3 separate regions of the Homo sapiens genome follow, and all the other regions are linked to region 1. Evidence: promoter capture Hi-C in 16 types of primary human blood cells and fetal thymus (Javierre and others, 2016). All regions are on one chromosome and are shown on one strand. The core of a region is centred on a gene start or on the middle of the fragment in contact, and the rest is flanking DNA. Distances in the headings are between cores, read along the strand shown. Region 1 holds the start of TTL (tubulin tyrosine ligase). Region 2 overlaps MERTK (MER proto-oncogene, tyrosine kinase). Region 3 overlaps MERTK (MER proto-oncogene, tyrosine kinase).

The links. The method cuts DNA at HindIII sites, captures the fragments that hold promoters and counts their contacts. A CHiCAGO score of 5 or more calls a contact.
Region 2: a contact is called between a fragment that was not itself captured here and the fragment with the promoter of TTL in region 1, in 1 of 17 cell types (M0 macrophages). The highest score is 5.7, in M0 macrophages.
Region 3: a contact is called between a fragment that was not itself captured here and the fragment with the promoter of TTL in region 1, in 6 of 17 cell types (M0 macrophages, total B cells, M2 macrophages and 3 more). The highest score is 7.3, in M0 macrophages.

Annotation. Positions count from the first base shown.
Region 1 is chr2:112,480,081-112,483,626 of GRCh38, forward strand. TTL (tubulin tyrosine ligase) reads left to right here and starts at 2,076. Exons shown (of 7, transcript NM_153712.5): 1 at 2,076-2,421. The coding sequence starts at 2,265. RefSeq lists an enhancer at 1,407-1,476 and silencers at 1,797-2,186, 2,747-2,846. The HindIII fragment of the contact is 5,056 bases long and covers 1-3,546 here.
Region 2 is chr2:111,919,501-111,923,201 of GRCh38, forward strand. All of the region lies in intron 1 of MERTK (MER proto-oncogene, tyrosine kinase), which reads left to right. Among named protein-coding and RNA genes, the nearest start is that of MERTK, 23 kb to the left of the region's middle. The HindIII fragment of the contact is 2,718 bases long and covers 101-2,818 here.
Region 3 is chr2:111,901,585-111,905,073 of GRCh38, forward strand. All of the region lies in intron 1 of MERTK (MER proto-oncogene, tyrosine kinase), which reads left to right. Among named protein-coding and RNA genes, the nearest start is that of MERTK, 4.7 kb to the left of the region's middle. The HindIII fragment of the contact is 5,986 bases long and covers 1-3,489 here.

The sequences.
Region 1 (3,546 bases), core at 826-3,325:
CCCAGCACTTTGGGAGACCAAGGCGGGCAGATCACTTGAGGTCAGGAGTTGGGAGATCAGTCTGGCCAATATGGTGAAACCCTGTCTCTACCAAAAATATAAAAAGTAGCCAGGCATAGTGGCCTGTGCCTGTAGTCCCAGCTACTCAGGAGGGTGAGGCAGGAGAATCTCTTGAAACCCGGAGGTGGAAGTTGCCGTGAGCTGAGATCACGCCATTGCACTCCAGCCTGGGCGACAGTGCAAGACTCCCTAACAGACACACACACACACACACACACACACACACACACACGTTCCAAGGAGGAAAGATGAGTTACCTTACAAAGAAAAGGGAATAAGCTGGGTGTGGTGGCTCACGCCTGTAATCCCAACAGTTTGGGAGGCTGAGGTGGGAGGATGGCTTGAGTTGAGGAGTTCGAGACCAGCCTGGGCAATATGGTGAGACCCTGTCTCAAAAAAAAGTGGGGTGGGGAATAAGTAGTACCGTACAGAACCTACAGCTAAAAGAAACAAAAATGGTGCTCGCTACAAAAAGTGAGAAAAAGGAAAAAGGTAGCTTCTGGATTTGGAAATTCAAAGGTCACTGGTGTTCCTAATGAGATCCACGGTTGTGGAGTGGCAGAGAGAAGCCACCTGTGGCACAGGAGTCGTCAGTAGGAGTCGCAGGAGGAATTGATGCAGCATGGTGGGAGTGGACGTCACTTTCAAGGTGATCAGCCGTGAAGAGCGGCAAACACAGCGTCTTGGCTCGAGTTCCCCCAAACGGTGCCCCCTGGAACAAGAATTTGAGCACGAGTACAGTAGTTTTTTTGGGAGGTGATCCCAGGAAACATCGGTAGTCAGGGAAAGGAAGGAAGCCAACAGAAGATGCCCTGATGAGCAAGTTGCAGCTGTGGACAACCGCAGCCGTGGCCTACAGAGGACCACCGCAATACGCCTAGGACACACGCCTCCCCGCAGGGCACGTGCGGAGGGCGAGAGGGCCAGGGCATTCTCGACCAACTCTATCCCTCGTGGAGGGAGAGCAGCTGGGAAGGAGTGCAAGCACCCAGCACCTCTAAGTCTGCCCCATTTCTGCTCTGAGCGGGCTCTCCACAGCCAGCGGTTGCCTGCAGGTGGAGCCGGTGCGCAAGACAGGCGAGTGAGCGCCTGGCGGCCCCGTGGAATCTGGGCAACGATGGGAAGGAGAAGGGCGCTTTTACAATGTGCTCGGGTAGATACCGTGAGCATCGGGGGACAGGAAGGGGAGAGGCCCCAGGGTGTTCTTTATCTACAGGAGAGTAAAAGATGCAAGGCGCAGGGCTGATGTGGGTAATTTATGAGGGACTGTAGGAAGTTTGGGGGAGCTCTGATGATCATTGCCTTCTCTTTGTATCTCAAATGCAGCAGCACAGTCTTCAGAGTGGGCTATCAGAACCGAAGGGACTTTTAAGAGCCACTCTCCGCCGCTCATAAGGGGAAATCGAGGTCCGGAGAAGGGAAAGCAAGTGGCTGAATGCCGGTAAAAGGCAGGAAAAGAGCGGAGCCCAGGGCTCCAGGGGGTCGGTTTGGGACCTGCTTCCACCAGCAGAGTCTAAGGTCATCCCCTTGGCCGTGCGCCACCCTGGGCTCAGCCGAAGGAAGGAGCACTCGACACAAACAAAACCGACGCTCCGGGTCTCCGTAGTCGTTAAGCAAAGAGGAAGAGGAAGCGCTTCTTCATTAGGCCACAGGACCGGGCCTTAGAACTTTTGGGTTTTATCCATTAAAGGTCCTTTGGCAATAGAAGAAAAACCCAGATCGAGCCCTGCAAACTGGGATCTTCCGCCGGCACCGCCCCCCGGCTGCGACCCGGGGCTCGGAAAGAACCACCCCAGGCCCGGGCTCCGGTTCCACCGCACAGTCCGCCCGCTGCGGTAAAGCCGCGCCCACCGCCGCGGGTCTCCAACCCTGCGCCGCCGCCGCCCCCGGGGGAGGGTACGGAAAGGGCGCGGCGCCGCCGCCCACGGGCTCCTCCAGAGCGCGGCGGGGCCGGGCCGCGCGGAATCACGGGACAGAGGCGGGGCCGCGCCGGCGGGGGCGGGCGTGCGAGCGGCGCTTTCCTCTCCGGCACCCGGCGGGCGCCCGGGCGCGGCGCCGCCGGCACCCGAGAGGCGCGGTAGCCGGCGCGGGCGGCGGGGGCCGGGCCGCGGCGGGCGCCCGGGCGGGGTCCGCGCTGAGCCGCCTTCTCGGCCGCCTGGTCCCTGCGGCGGCTGCCCGGCGGCCCGGGCGCGCGGCGCTTCGCCATGTACACCTTCGTGGTACGCGATGAGAACAGCAGCGTCTACGCCGAGGTCTCCCGGCTGCTCCTCGCCACCGGCCACTGGAAGAGGCTGCGGCGAGACAACCCCAGATTCAACCTGATGCTGGGAGAGAGGAATCGGCTGCCCTTCGGGAGACTGGGTGAGCCCCTCCCCGATTCCCGTCTGCCCTCCTCGGAGCGGCCCTGCGCGCCTCCCGCGGCCCGTTAGAACCGGCGCTTTTGTTTTTAAAGGTCATACATTTTCTCCTCTGTCGCTTGTCGGGCACATCAGAAACGGATTCGGAAAGATCGAAACCTGTCGTTTTTAATGCTTTCTTGTCTCCTAACTTGGATTTAGAGTCGGAGTCGCGGTGCGGCCACTCGGGGCCGCAGCTACCTCCCGACGGTGACCGGTCCCTGCAGCCCGGGAGACGCTGGCCGCCGGGGCTGGGACCTGAGGCGCGAGTCTAGCGGCTCCCCCGGGCCGAAGCCCCCAGATTTGGCGGGTCCGCCGCGCTGGGCGCGGCTCCGCAGAGCGGGCGGCTGGAGTCATCTTTTGCAGCTCGTCTGCACTGAGGATTTCTCCCTGCTTGGCGTGGGCGCGGGCGGGGGAGCCGTAGGTGTTGAAACCCCTGAGGCTTCTGCCCCCCGAAGGCGCGGAGGAGCGATCAGAGGATTTGGAAAAGACCCCCGGATTCCAAAAGCAGGAGCTGCAGAAGAGACCCTAGCCCAGGGAAGTGTGGAGGGATGTCTGATTATAAACCTTTCCTTAGTTTCACCAAATAATGTGTTTTCGCAGTTCTGCATTGGATTAAGATCTTACACGAGGCTGCGTTCGCCCTCCCTGTCTTCCCTGCTCTCCCCGAGGGAATTACCTTCATCCACATGGTTGAAGCTGGCTGGGCACCACCATACCCACATGTCCACGGGTAGGAAAGCGCAGGAGATAGGAGGGGACTAGCGGCTCCTTTGTAAGTGATGTCATCCAGAAGTTGCCCAGATCGGTTCAACTCACATCCTATTGACCTGAGCATAGTCTCATGGCCTCCCTCTCTGCACAGTCATCTGGGAATTGCATCTTCTCTCCGGGGAGCCATGTTCCTTGCCAGAATTCACCAGAGGTGGGGGCCAATTGTATTCCAAAGACAAGGGGAGAATCGATACGGAGGAAGAGTCACCTCTACCTTGGAGGGCAACCCAGAGAGAGCAATGTTCTATGTCCAGGAGAGAAAACAGTTTTTAGAAATAGGTGTGGTCAGAATTCAAATGGGTAAAAACTGAATACG
Region 2 (3,701 bases), core at 210-2,709, 560 kb before region 1:
AGAAGATAGTGAAAAGTCGAGGTCAGATTCTGGAAGGCTCTTTTCTGGTTGCATTGGTGCCCCCCATGGTAGGGACATGGACATTGCAGTCTGTTTGGGAAGCTTCTTTTGCAAAGCACCACCAAGAAAAAGGCAAATGCCCCAGTGAAAAAGTGGGGGACAGGCTGAAAGGGATGATGAGAGGGTACCTAAAGCCCTTTGGGGCCCTTGGGGCTTGCCCTGCTAACATGTGTGTTCAAGGCCAAGCAGAGAGGTACCTCTGCTCATTTTGTTTTTTGATGTTTTTTCTTTTTCTTTTCTTTTTTTTTTTTTTTTTGAGCCAAAAGGAATGTATTGGGCCAGGGGCAGTAGGAAGGTCACCCCACTGATAAGCAAGCCCCTTGTGCTTTTGCTCAGATGTCTCAGCCCCTTCATGCTGCAAGCCTTGGTTCAGAGAGGTTGGATAGCTTTCCTGGTGTGCCAGGTCCCTGTTTGCCCCTCCAGACCCACTCTCCATGCTGCTCTAAGCCCCAAGAAGCAGCCTGTGGGAAGGGCAACAATGAAATCCCTAGTGCTGTGGCTCCAGCTGGTTTTGACTAAATGATACTAAGTTATATTTGTTCCTCTAAGTAAATCCGGGGTGTTCCCATATTGGTTGCTTATCTGAAATTCAGGTGTAAAGGGCTGTACTGTTTTTTATCTGGCAACCCAATGCCAACACCGTGTTTTACAGGCAACTTCACGTTCCTTCCACCGTGCAGGCATTTCTGGGCTTTCACTGGCACTTGGGCTTTTCTCCTCCTGTGGCTGGGCTGTGACCTCTTGGGGCACACACTGCCCAGCCATTTACTTCCTTTCCTTCCTGCAAGCGCCAGGCCTGTTCTCTCCAGCACTGACTCAGAGCCAGCCACCCGCTTTCTCTTGCAGGGCTTTGCTACACTTAGGGCAAATGGGTGGCGTGATCGCCTCTTCCTCCTTTAACATTCTCCAAGTGGCCCAAGGGTCACTCCAGTGAAGTTAATAATTACCATTTGCAATTTAGGACTGATCCATCAGGTCAAGTGAGTTCTGATTGAAGGTTGTTTTTTTTTTTTCTTTTTCTTCTAATGAAGTGTTGCTACTCTGTTTGTTTGTTTTTCTTCTAATGAAGTGTTGCTACTCTTTATTTTATTTATTTATTTATTTATTTTCCGAAACAGAGTCTCACTGTGTTGCCTACGCTGGAGTGCAGTGGCGTGATCTCAGCTCACTGCAACTTCTGCCTCCCGGGTTCAAGCAATTCTCCCTGCCTCACCCTCCCGAGTAGCTGGGATTACAGGCGCCTGCCACCAGGCCTGGCTACTTTTTGTATTTTTTAGTAGAGACAGGGTTTTGCCATGTTGGCCAGGCTGGTCTTGAACTCCTGACCTCAGGTGATCTGCCCGCCTCGGCCTCCCAAAGTGCTGGGATTACAGGCGTGAGCCACTGCGACTGGCCACTACACTTTATCAATCAGGAATCCTTTGGGTATTGCATAAATAGTACTAAGTAGAAAATTTCCTTTTGTGCTATGTTTGGCCTCAGCTAGCTGTGGGGGTAAAGGGAGTGGGGTGGGAGTCCTTAACCTGGGTGACAGGGCAGCTGCTCAGGACATGATTCAAATATCAGCCTGGTGTGTGCACACAGAATGTGGGGTGGGGGCACTGGTCTAGGTTCTGCGTTTTCTCCTAGAGAGGGTAGGGAAACAGGGATACCAGCATTTACAGGATTCCAGATGCAAAAGCCTTTCTCTGAACTTTGGGAGGTGAAGGCGGGCAGATCACCTGAGGTTAGGAGTTCGACACCAGCCTGACCAACATGGTGAAACTCGGTCTTTACTAAAAATACAAAAATTAGCTGGGCATGGTGGTACCTGCCTGTAGTCCCTGCTACTCAGGAGGCTGAGGCAGGAGAATTGCTTGAACCCTGGAGGCGAGGTTTGCAGTGAGCTGAGATCACACCACTGCACTCCAGCCTGGGCTGTGACAGACTAAGACGCGATCTCAAAAAAAAAAAAAAAGCCTTTCTCTAAATCACAAACCCACCTGCAGAAGGGCTGTAGGGCTGTTTGATAGCAAATACCTTCAGCAGACAGCAAGACTGGTGAGGAAACAGCATACCTCTGGAATAAGGTGCATCCTCTTGGCCATGCATTTATGTGCCATATGTTCATGTGTGCTTGAGTTGGGAAGCAAAGAACCTCTAGGAACTGAAAGATAAGCCCTCACTCTTTTGCAGCCTCCTCTGGGCCTCGTTTTTCTTTTATTTCTATTTTTGGTAGAGACTTGTCTCACTCTGTTGCCCAGGCTGATCTTGAACTCCTGGGCTCAAGCAATCCTCCCGCTTCGGCCTCCCAAAGTGCTGGGAGCCACCACGCCTAGCCTGGGCCTCTTGAGTTTGAGGCTGAACTTTAGAGAGCTCAGCTGATGCTTCTGCCCATTTTATTGTTGGGGAAGGAATAGAAAGAGCAGGAGTAATGGGTCCCACAGGCTGGCACTCACTCCTGCCATTACTGTAACTCTGGTAGAGGAGCTATTCCTCTCTCTTCCCAGGTGCCTGGGATCATAAAGCAGGCTGATGGCACACAGCATCCTGGGGTAGCTGGGGTGGGGTGGAACTGAACAGGGTTCACCAGCCAGCACCCTCAGTCCCACAGGGCTGCCACCTGCCCTGCTCAACCCTCTTCCCACAGCATGGAGGGACTCCAGGGCCAGGGAGGCTGCTTGCTGCCACATCCCCACCCACTATCATGGGACCTGCAATTTCAGTTGCTGCTGCTTTCTTTAGTCACCTCGGTGATCACCTTGGGCTGTGATCACCAAGCTTCAAGAAAATCAAAGGAGCTCATGTTAGGAAAGGCTGGTGGAGACCATCCCTGGAGAGATTGAGAGATGCCTTAGAGCTAAGAGCCCTTCGCATCCCAAGCCCGATGTATATTTTTTCCTCTCACTCATGGCTGGCAATTATATTACTCTAGTATTGCCCTTCCCCATGCATTGTCCAAGGCAGACATCACTAATTAAACTCAGCCCTTATCCCCGCAGGGCCCAGACCTGGCTTTAGAAATTCCTACTTTAGGTGGCCAGCAGGCCAGGGTTCAGATGCAAGCCAGTAACAGCCATGTCAGCCAATATTTTTGGAGTGTGCTGGTGGACTCGATGCCTATCAGCTCCTACTGCTGAGATCCTCTTGTCCTCACAAGAGTTCAAAGAAGTTATAGAGCTTTCCTGAGGCCATACCTTGAGGTGGTGAGGGACTGGGTGGGCCTCAGCCCTCTGACTGCAAAGCTGCTAGCTAACCTCTGAGCAGCACTGCCCACCAGCCCTTCTGCCTTTGCACACTGCATTTGACAAGTGCTCAGCAAGGATTCATGGATTTGAGGGTAGGATGCACTAGTTGATCACATGGAAAATAACATTCTTTACTGGCTTGCCCTAATGAACGAATTTTGAGTCTAAGAGACTATTCACAAAGTCCCTAAATGTCTGAGCCACTGTAATTGTGTGTCATAGGCATGCTGACAGCCTCTCCAAGTTCTGTCTCCAGCCACAGCAGTGTCCTTGCCTGGACCACCTCTCTTCCCTGCTCACCCTTCAGGACCTCTGCACGTCACACCCGTTTATTCTGTAAATGTTTGCTGCATGTGACTCCATGCCAATCATCATGATGGGTTCAGATGATGCCACCTCCAGCCTTCAAGGAAG
Region 3 (3,489 bases), core at 930-3,429, 580 kb before region 1:
TCATTCTGCCACCCAGGCTAGAGTGCAGTGGCACCATCACGGCTCACTGCAACCTCAACCTTCCGGGCTCAAGTGATCCTCCCACCTCAGCCTCCCAAGTAGCTATGACCACAGGCACATACCACCATGCCTGGCTAATTTTTTATTTTTTGTAGAGACAGGATCTCACTATGTTGCCCAGGCTGGTCTTGAACTCCTGGGCTCAAGCGATCTTCCCACCTTAGCCTCTCAGAGTGTGGGGATTATAGGCATGAGCCACCATGCACAGCTGAATACAATTTTTAAAAAATTAACAATAATTATGTTTTTTTGTTTTTGAGATAGAGTTTCACTCTTGCTGTCCAGGCTAGAGTGCAATGGCACAATCTCGGCTCACCGCAACTTCCCGCCTCCCGGGTTCAAGCAGTTCTCCTGCCTCAGCCTCCTGAGTAGCTGGGATTACAGGCATGCACCACCACGCCTGGCTAATTTTGTATTTTTGGTAGAGACAGGGTTTCTCCGTGTTGGTTAGGTTGGTCTCGAACTCCCAACCTCAGGTGATCTGCCTGCCTTGGCCTCCCAAAGTGCTGGGATTACAGGCATGAGCCACCACACCCAGCCAATAATTATATTTTTAAATCTTAATTTTTGAAATAATTTCCAGATAATTGTAGAAGGGCCAGTGAGTTACTAGTCAGCATTGGTCAAGAAGAGGTTCAATCTTTTTATGCCTGTGAATTGGGAACATGCTGCTGGGTAGAAAAACTGAGCTGGGACCTTGAACACACATGTGAAACAGTCGCTTTCCATATAATAGCCAGAATGAGATTTTGGAAACGAATCTGATTGTATTTTCCATTTGAAAATCTTCCAGTGGCTTCCTGTTCCCTACTAGAATTTGCAGAGACTCACAGCGAACCTCTTTGACCCATTTCCATTCACTTCCCTCTTGTTCCTACCACTCCAGCCACCTGTGTCTTCTTTCTAGGGCCTGAGCAGCCTTTGCAGTGACTCTTCCCTCTGGCTGGAACCTTTTTCCCAAGATCTCGGCATGCTGGCTTCTTCTCATCCTTTGGGTTTCAGTTCAGAGGTTCTCCTTGAGAAGCCTTCCCCAATAACCACCCCCTGCCAAAGTATCATATGCATACACCCCACTATCCCTTAAATTTAATTTCCTGATAATGCTTCTCACAACCTGATCAGTTCCTTCCTTCCTTCCTTCCTTCCTCCCTCCCTCCCTCCCTCTATTTCTTTATTGACAGAGTCTTGCAATGGCAAATTCTCTGCTCACTGCAACCTCCGCCTCCCAGGTTCAAGCAATTCTCCTGCCTCAGCCTTCCCAGTAGCTGGGATTACAGGCACCTGCCACCACAGCTGGCTAATTTTTGTATTTTTAGTAGAGACAGGGTTTCACCATGTTGGCCAGGCTGGTCTCGAACTCCTGACCTCAGGTGATCCGCCTACCTCAGCCTCCCAAAGTGCAGAGATTACAGGCGTGAGCTATGGCACCCAGCCTTACCTCTTTGTTTACTCCTTTTCCTCCACTGTCCCCCCACCACAAGGTAAGCTCCTGGTGGCAGGGCTGCTGTCTTTTTCACTGCTAACACAGCATGGAGCTCATACGGGTGCTCAGTGAGTATCAGAGCACAGCATGAAGGAACCAAGCCCCTGCATGTCTTACCAGGTGCTCTTCACCCTTATCTTTTCCTACTGGCTTTTCCAGAAACAGAATTGCTGGAGCTCCCATGCCCTCACATTCGGGGCTTGGTTAATAGAAAACAATCTTTTATTTTGCTGTGATGCCAATGTGATTTCATTGCTGGAGGAGCTAGTCAATTAAAACCAGACAGATTTTTGGGCTGTATTAACCCCAAACATATTTTACATTGTCCTAACTATTCCAACTAGAAAAAAAAATGTCAGAAGGTAATTTTTCATGTTAAACACAGTTCTAACAACTCCTTGCTCAGGGGCAGGTAGCCCTGGGTGCCTTGACTTTGGCCCTTGCCGTTAGTTTAATCTTAACCCAAAGCACATGGCTCTGAATTGGTATGTTTCTCAGCAGGAGATTAATTATTATAAAAACTGAAAGGGGTCTCACACTGTGTGAGGCACACTATGCCTCTGGGGACTGGAATGAAAGTGTTAACCGGGACTGGCTTCTGGGGCTTTGGGGGTGGTGATTAACTTTCAGGACCTCTGTTCCTTTTTGGGTACAGTGGGAGGCTCTTTTCATAGAATTGTTAGGAGGACGTAATGAGCTAATGGCAGGTGATATGTGCTTAAAATATATTTGCCATTATTACCAATGGTTCTCCTCCATTCTTCTGAACTCAAGTATGGGGGAAATGTTTTTCCTAGACAAAAGGTGTTGGGAGGAGGGTTCTTTTCTTATTGAAGTGTATCCTGAATGGTCCACCCTCCATTGTTCAGAATGCTTTGGTGAAGGGGCCCTCCGGTGTCGCCCTAGAGTGCCCAAGTCCTTTGCTGCAGCTCTTTAGGTTTTTGTTTCCTAGTAGTTTGAGCAAAACCCACCCAGGACCAAGCAGTTCTCCAGAGAAGCAGGGCCCGCCCTGACTGCCATTCCCCTCCTACTCCTGCCCCCATACCTTCCCTTATGGAGTTCAAACTTGACATAGTACAGGAATAGCTTCTTGTCATGTGCCTCTCAGGAAGGTATAAAAATGAAGTCCAGTTCCTGTTCAACTTTTCCCACATAACTCTTTTCCAAACTGGGTGTGGTTTAAATTTTTTTATTTTTATTTTTTGTGTTTGTTTTGTTTTAGGGTTTTTGAGTGTGAACATCCAGAAAATTCTTTTTTTTTTTTTTGAGATGGAATCTTGCTCTGTCGCCCAGGCTGGAGTGCATGTGGCGCGATCTCGGCTCACTGCAACCTCCGCCTCCTGGCTTCAAGCAATTCTCTGCCTCAGCCTCCCAAGTAGCTGGGATTACAGGTGCCCTCCACCAGACCTGGCTAATTTTTGTATTTTAAGTAGAGACGGGGTTTCACCGTGTTGGGCAGGCTGGTCTTGAACTCCTGACCTCGCGATCCACCCACCTCGGCCTCTCAAAGTGCTGGGATTACAGGAGTGAACCACCTCACCCAGCTCAGAAAATTCTTTTCCTTTTTACCACATCGAGCTAGGTTTTCCCAATGAGGTCAGTTGGCTGCAACATAGAGAAAATGAGGCTTTGGTTCTTAGAGTAGATTCCGTGTACAGGCGTGAGTATGTGTCCGCAGGTGGTCTTGTAGGAAATGCAAAGGGCGCCAGGTGCACTCCTGGCTTCTGGTACTTCCTGCTTAATGGCATGGGTGAGCCAACCCTCAGGTGCCCGGGAGGGAGCCCTGATTACTCTCCCTCTGGCACTCTGGGCATTGGCTAACCCGTGACCGGAGTTAAACCAGTTCCCTCTCTTTTCATTCTATGTCTCCCACTCCTGCCTCCAGCCGAAGTGCTAAAAATGCAGCCTGGCAGGGGCAGAGAATTCCATTAGGATCAGCAGGCCCC